Linked DNA regions of Homo sapiens: region 1 is linked to region 2. The links are contacts of gene promoters, found by promoter capture Hi-C in human tissues and cell types (Jung and others, 2019). All regions are on one chromosome and are shown on one strand. Each heading gives the region's core, a stretch centred on a gene start or on the middle of the fragment in contact. The rest is flanking DNA. Distances are from core to core; before and after follow the strand shown. Region 1 has its middle 76 kb from the start of NHLRC3. Region 2 holds the start of COG6 (component of oligomeric golgi complex 6).

Region 1 (4,004 bases), core at 1,417-3,916, 540 kb after region 2:
AAATACTATAAACACCTCCATGCAAATAAACTGGAAAATCTAGAGGAAATGGATAAATTCCTGGACACATACACCCTCCCAAGACTGAACCATGAAGAAGTTGAATCCCTGAATAGACCAATAACAAGTTCCAAAATTGAGGTAGTAATAAACAGCCTACCAACCCCTCAACAAAGCTGATTTCTACCAGAGGCACAAAGAGGAGCTGGTACCATGTCTTCTGAAACTATTCCAAACAATTGAAAAGAAGTGACTCCTCCCTGACTCATTTTATGAGGCCAGCATCTTGATACCAAAACCTGGTGGAGATACAACAAAGAAAACTTCAGGCTAATATCCCTGATGAACACTGATGCAAAAATCCTCACTAAAATATTGGCAAACTGAATCCAGTAGTACATCAAAAAGCTTATCCACCATGATCAAGCTGGTTTCATCCCCAGGATACAAGGCTGGTTCAACATATGCAAATCAATAAATGTAATTCATCACATAAACAGAACTAAAGACAAAAACTACATGATTATCTCAAAAGATGCAGAAAAGGCCTTCAATAAAGTTCAACATCCTTAAAGTTAAAAACTCTCAATAAGCTAGGTATTGAAGGAATATGCCTCAAAATAATAAGAGTCATTTATGGCAGACCCACAGCCAATATTATACTAAGTGGGCAAAAGCTGGAAGCATTCCTTTTGAAAACTGGCTCAAGACAATGATGCCCTCTCTCTTATTCAACATAGTATTGGAAGTTCTGGCCAGGGCAATCAGGCAAGAGAAAGAAATAAAGGGTATTCAAAAGTAGGAAGAGAGGAAATCAAATTGTCTTTGTTTGTGGATGACATGATACTATATCTAGAAAACACCATTGACTCAGCCCAAAAGCTTCTTAACCTGATTAGCAACTTCAGCAAAGTCTCAGGACACAAAATCAATGTGCACAAATCACAAGCATCCCTATACACCAATGACAGACAAACAGAGAGCCAAATCATGAATGAACGTCCATTTACAATTGCCACAAAAAGGAATAAAATATCTAGGAATACAGTTAACAAGGGAAATGAAGGATCTCTTCAAGGAGAACTACAAACCACTGCTCAAGGAAATCAGAGAGGACACAAGCAGATGGGAAAACATTCCATGCTCATGGATAGGAAGAATCAATATTATGAAAATGGCCATATTGCCCAAAGCAATTCATAAATTCAATGCTATTCCCATTAAACTATCATTGACATTCTTCACAGAATTAAAAAAAAAAAACTAAAATTCATATGGAACCAAAAAAGAGCTCATATAGCCAGGACAAACCTCAGCAAAAAGAACAAACCTGGAGGCATCACACCACCCAATGTCAAACTATATTACAAGGCTATAGTAACCAAAACAGCATGGTACTGGTACAAAAACAGATACATAGACCCATGGAACAAAATAGAGAACCCAGAAATAAGGCCACATGCCTACAACTATCTGATCTTTGACAAACTTGACAAAAACAAGCAATGGGGAAAGGATCCCCTATTCATTAAATGGTGTTGGGAAAACTGGCTAGCCATATACAGAAAATTGAAACTGGATTCCTTCCTTACACTTTATGCAAAAATTAACTCAAGATGGATTAAAGACTTAAATGTAAAACCCAAAACTATAAAAACTCTAGGAGAAAATCTAGGCAATACCATTCAGGACATGGGCATGGGCAAAGATTTTATGATGAAATCACCAGAAGCAATTGCAACAAAAGCAAAAATTGACAAATGGGATCTAGTTAAACTAAAGAGCTTCTGCACAGCAAAAAAAGCTATCATCACGGTGAATAGACAACCTACAGAATGGGAGAATATGTTTATAATCTATCCATCTGACAAAAGTCTAATATCCAGAGTCTACAAGGAACTTAAACAAATTTACTGGATGAAAACAATCCCATTAAAAAGTGGGCAAAATATATGAACAGATACTTCTCAAAAGAAGACATTCATGTGGCCAAGAAACAAATGATAAAAAGCTCAACATCACTGACAATTAGAGAAATGCAAATCAAAATGAAAATGAGATACCATCTCAAGCCAATCAGAATGGTGATTTTTAAAAAGTCAAGAAACAACAGATGCTGGTGAGATCATGGAGAAATAGGAAGGCTTTTACACTGTTGGTGGGAATGTAAATTAGTTCAACCATTGTGGAAGACAGTGTGGTGATTCCTCAAAAATTTAGAACCAGAAATACCATTTGACCCAGCAATCCCATTACTGGGTATATACCCAAAGGAACATAAATCATTCTATTATAAAGATACATGCATGAGTATGTTCATTGCAGCACTATTCACAATAGCAAAGACATAGAATCAACCCAAATGCCCATCAATTATAGACTGGATAAAGAAAATGTGGTACATATATGCCATGGACTATTATGCAGCCAAAAAAGGAATGAGATCATGTCCTTTGCAGGGACGTGGATGAAGCTGGAAGCCATTATCCTCAGCAAACTAATGCAGGAACAGAAAACCAGACAACACATGTTCTCACTTATAAGTGGGAGTTGAACAACAAGAACACGTGGGCACAGGGAGGGGAACAACACACACTGGGGCCTATTGGGGGAGGGGAGGGGAGGGGAGAGCATTAGAAAAGAGCTAATGGATGCTGGGCTTAATACCTAAGCTGATAGGTCCAGCAAACCACCATGGTATATGTTTACCCATGTAACCAACCTGCACATCCTGCATTTGTACCACAGAACTTAAAAAAATAAAATAAAACAGTAAAAAAGATGATGTAAAAGGTATACATTTAAATGCCCATATCTGCAAAATCCCAGAAATTAGCTACTTTGCAAGGTTTCCCAATTTATAAAGTAAGAAATTTTGACTATGATCTCTAAGGTACTTTCCAGCTCTGTTTTGGTAATATGTTTAATATCAATTCCATTCCAACTGTTTTCTTTCTCGACATACATTAGAATAAAAACAGCAGAATACATGACTCTTTCCTTTATATACTTGTTCAATACATCTTTATTAAGAACATACCATATCCCATGCATTTTTTGAAACACTAAAAATATATTAATGTTCAAAGCTGATGAAGTATCCCACCCTCATGGAGCTTATATTTTAGTGGGAGAAAATACATAAACAAACAAATAAATAAAATATGTAATATATAAGATAAATTCTATCAAGAAAAGGAAAGCAGGAAAGGGATGGAGATTCTATGGGGTAGAAACAATTTTTAATAGGCTCGTTAAAGAAGTTCTCCTTGAGAAAGTAACATTTGAACCATGCGTATAGTTATAGGTATTGTGGGATGATCTGGAAATCCTCAGCTACTTGAAGACTGACATAAGTCAGTAAACATAAAAGTGAGATTTTAGCGACTGTTCACAAGAAAGATCACGGCGGTGAGCCTGTGAGCAGGGGCTGATTTAATGAGAAGCTAAAGAAGCTTCAGTTTCAAAGACCCTCATTTGCATGGGCCCTTTTGAGGACCCCAGGAGAAGCTAGCAATACATTTGCCTGGTATTTTGTGATCTTTTACTTGAAAAGAGCACCCCAAAGTGTATAAAGCTCAGTCCCACAGAATTTGGATCCTCTCCAGCTGTAAATGTCACACAGGGAGAGAGGTGATGGTGTGGCTCATGCCAGGAGCACACAGAATTCAAGGGACTCCCATTGAACCTGCTGATAAATAATTATCCAGCTAGTGGTGGATTGCATTATTGTTCTCTACTCTTTCCTTCTCCCTTTATCTACCACCTTAGTCATAAGACTTTGCAGTTTGCCCTACAAGAGGCAGAGTATATTTCCTTGCCTAGCTGATACTGGATTTAGCCGGGAAGCTTGCTTTGGCCAATTGAATGTTCTGAATGGGATGAAAGCAGTCCATTTAAAACACATCTATAGGCTTGGGGTTGTCCTTTTGTGCTCTTTCCTTTTGTCATGAGAAGAATGTGTCCAGGGTAACCTTCTAGTCTCAGAATGAGTAGCACGTGGA
Region 2 (4,181 bases), core at 672-3,171:
GAAGCAAAAATATGTTTACAACTATAAATACTTACTGTACAGAAAAAAAAAACCCATGAAGTGAAGCAGTTTCTTTAGACTATAGCCTTGAAATGTCCTAAGGTCTGGTTCAAAGAAGTAATCAGTAATGTTGAACGAATGAAATCACAGACTCAGATGCAAATTACAGTTCCACCAGTTACTAGTTATATGACAACCTAGCTGCACTCTCTCCATGCTTTATTTTCCTCATGGTAAAAAGAAGGTTATGTGGCCGGGCGCAGTGGTTCACGCCTTGTAATCCCAGCACTTTGGGAGGCTGAGGCGGGCAGATCACCTGAGGTCAGGAGTTCAAGACCAGCCTGACCAACATGGAGAAACCCCGTCTCTAATAAAAATACAAAATTAGCCAGGCGTGGTGGCACATGCCTGTAATCCCAGCTACTTGGGAGGCTGAGGCAGGAGAATCGCTTGAACCCGGGAGGCAGAGGTTGCAGTGAGCCGAGACTGCGCCCATTGCACTCCAGCTTGGGCAAAAAGAGCAAAACTCTGTCCAAAAAAGAAGGCCATGTTATCTATATCAGAGCAAGTAGCAGTCTTAAATGATATAATAAATATCAATATGAGACACATTAAACACTTCATAAATTTTATGATAAAATTAATATTTGTTAAGAAAGAGTAAGTGCCAGGCTCTTTGCAAAGGACTTTACCTGGAGTCTCTCACTGAGTCCTCAAATAACAACCATGAGAAACTTAACAGCAGGATTCCTAATTCCTAAACAGAAGCTGAGATTAGTGAAGGGACTTACTCAAATCATGATGCACACATTTAGTGGTTCTATCTAATAAGTGGTAGTCTCCAGAGCCCTAATTTCTTATTCATTACATTGCAATGTTATTTTTTTACATATCGGAATCAAATTGTTATCGACAGCTTATTTTCAGTTACCTACATATTCACCTATAAAACTCTCTAACTTTGACATATGTTCTTCTTTATGTTACACTGTCATGACCAATTTACCTAGCGACCCACAGAGACAGAAGAGATGGCTGGGTATGTGAGGAGCTGTAAAGTCCAACTTAAGTTTCAGGAGGTACTTGTGAGAGCATGCTGTCAGTTTATCTTCTAAAGAAATACAGCCTGAGCCCACAAATCATAGCGCTTGGCTCAACAAAAACTAGTAGATATGAGTTCATTTCAGCCACGGGCAAAGGTAGTTCTTTCGCGCTGCAAATTATTGCAATTGTTGTCACTTGTCCGTGGAAATGCACCCTTATCCCTACCACTGCTCTCTTGGTCTCCCGACCCCCATTTGCGCTACCTTATCTTGGAATCTGCTCTTTTGCATCTGTTTCATATCCAGTCTTGTGCTCTCCTCCACTCTCCCAGCTCACACAGCCAAACGCCTCCAGGGGTGTTTGGAGGACACTTCTCGAGGCACCACCGTTCACCAATCCCATCCAGAGAGCCTTGAAGGCACCTTTTCAGGTGGAGAGAACACCCAGGAAACCCCTTCGCTTTTCCGGAGGTTGCTGGGGCTCCCCCTTCTCACCGCCCCCGGCGCCCGCAGAGCAGCGGAGCCCGCAGGTCTGGGGTCACTCGCGGTCCCTCTGCTGCCGGGACGAGGGAGACCGCGGTGGGTCCCTGACAGACGCCGCCCCTGGCCCGGCTCAGCCCCGCAGGAACCTGTGACTCCGGCCCCGCCAGCCCCGGTTACCTTGTCGTTGTCCAGCCGCGTCTCCAGGATCTTATGCAGCTTGCGCGACAGCGGGTTGCAGGTCGTCGCCGAGGTCCCGCCTGCCCCATTGTTGAGGCCGTTGGCAGCCCCGGTCGCAGACACTGCGACCACTTCCCCGCTGCCCTCTGCCATAGCGCTGCGCGTCCCGCCCCCTGCTGCCACCTCAGCCAGGCAGGGACCACGGAGGCAGCGCGAGTATTGCGCATGTGCAAATCGGCCGCGCATGCGCATCGGCCCCGGAAGTCTTCGCCGGGTAACCCTGCTTGGGCTCTCAGAAGCGTGAGGGGCGGAGAAGATGTGGGGGGCGGGACAAGACCCTCAGGTAGAAGGAGAAAATTTATAGGATTAGAGAGGACTTTGGAATTATGGATCTGCGACCTTCAGAGCTAATTAGATGACAACCAAATGTAGTATGTAAAATACACCATGACTTGTGCCTGGCATATACATTCAATATAAGTTAACTGAAAGTTTAAATTACATTTGCCTTATCTGAATTCATTTTTTTGAAAATTATTTATTGAAGGCATAGTATGTGCCAGGTACTCTGGTAGGCATTGGAGAATCTACATTGTGTGTCTGAAACAGACAAAGCTGTTAATAGATGTTATTAGGTTGTGATGAGTGCTCAGGGGATGAAGTAGTACAGTGAAAGAAAATGGAGGGAAAGGCCCACTTCACTCAGGGAGGTTTGGAGAGGAGTTGACACTTAAACTGAGATTTGAAGGAGAATCAGAATGTGAGGAGAAATCATTCCCAGGCAGAAGAAAGTGTGTAAGTGTACAGGCCTCAAAACAAGATGAACTTGGCCCTGACACAAATGGACCAGAGCCCATGTAGCTGTAAAGTAATGGATAAAAATGTAACAAGTTGAAAAAACTTCCCGGGAAACTCTGGAAAACAAACATCATTGCTTTTTTTCTTTCTTTTCTCAGTTTTTAAAATTTGGATCAAAATAAAATCGCTGGGCTTCTGTGAATTATTTGTCAGAAACACTATTTGGCTCTTGTCATAAATTTTCCTTGTTTCATATATGTCTATGTACATAGTTATATTGTATATCAGACTTAAGGGAAAATTACCTATTACAGAGGTCACATAAAGAAAGCACTGACAAAACCACTCATCTCTACTCTAATGAAGAAGAGAAGGCCCAACTATCCAAAAGAAAAAAATATACAAAAAGCAGCAATATCTAGGTATGAATTCAACAAAAAATACAGAGAACCTAGATGAAGAAAACTTTAAAATGCTACTGGGAGAACATAAAACTTAAATCAATGAAAAAATATATTGTTCTCTTCAACAGGAAGACTCAATATTGTAAGATGTCTTTTCTCTTTCACAGATAAATTTAAGTTCAGTGTAACCAAAATTAAAATATCAAAGGTTTACCTAAGGTGTATATATCCAAATGAATTTGCATATATACAAAGCAATAATATAATGTAGAGCTTGCAAATATGTACAATTAAAAGGAATGACGATGATAACATGCCAAGTCAGGAGCGGTCATGAAATACCACATATTGTATGACCTCTTTATGTGAAATCTCCCAAATAGGTAAATCAATAGAGATAGAAAGTAGATGAGTGGTTCTGGGAAGAGGAGTGTTGGGAAGAGGGAATGGGGAGTGTCAGTTCATGGTACAGGTTAATTTTTGGGGAGATGAAAATACTCTAAAGCTAAATTGTGGTGATGGTTGCACAACTCTGTAAATATACTAAAAAACACTGAACTGTACACTTTAAATGAATGAATTGAATGGCATGCAAGTTTCATCTCAAATCTGTTTTTTAGGCCAGGTATGGTGGCTCACACCTGTATTCCCAGCACTTTGGGAGGCTTAGGCAGGGGGATCTCGAGTTCAGGAGTTAAAGACCAGCCTGGGCAACATAGCGAGACCCTGTCTCTACAAAAAAAAAAAAAAAAATACGAAAACTAGTCGAGTGTGGTGGCATGCCTGTGGTCCCAGCTACTTGGAAGGTTGAGGTGGGAGTATCACTTGAGCTCAAGCCTGCGGTAAGTCATAATCATGCCACTGCCCTCTACTCTAGCCTGGGTGATGGAGCAAGGCCCTATCTTAAAATTGAAAAAAAAAAAATAAAGCTGTTTATTTTAAAAAGTAAATTGGAGATAAATAGACAAAATGTTTAAGTAATAAAAAATACAAATTTATATTAATTTTTAAAATCTTTATTTAGATATAATTTACAGGCCATAAACTTCACCTATTAAAAGTATAAAATATGACAGCTTTTAGTTCATTTACAGAGTTGGCAAATATCACCATCATCTAATTTTAAGACATTTTCATTACTTTAAGAAGAAAACTGTACCCACTAGCACTCCCCATTTTCCCCTCTCTACCACCCTAGGAAACCACAAATCTGCTCTCTGTCTCTATAGATATGCCAGTTTGGACATTTCATATAAACAGAATTATACAATATGTA

The links. The method cuts DNA at HindIII sites, captures the fragments that hold promoters and counts their contacts. A contact is called where the count stands out against the background at its distance.
Region 1: a fragment that was not itself captured here is called in contact with the fragment with the promoter of COG6 in region 2 in 2 of the 25 tissues and cell types used here (dorsolateral prefrontal cortex and mesendoderm cells).

The regions. Positions count from the first base shown.
Region 1 is chr13:39,112,766-39,116,769 of GRCh38, reverse strand. No RefSeq gene overlaps it. Among named protein-coding and RNA genes, the nearest start is that of NHLRC3, 76 kb to the right of the region's middle. The HindIII fragment of the contact is 4,041 bases long and covers 646-4,004 here.
Region 2 is chr13:39,653,402-39,657,582 of GRCh38, reverse strand. It overlaps COG6 (component of oligomeric golgi complex 6), which reads right to left and starts at 1,921. Exons shown (of 19, transcript NM_020751.3): 1 at 1,704-1,921. The coding sequence starts at 1,856. RefSeq lists a silencer at 1,608-1,657. The HindIII fragment of the contact is 9,691 bases long and covers 1-4,181 here.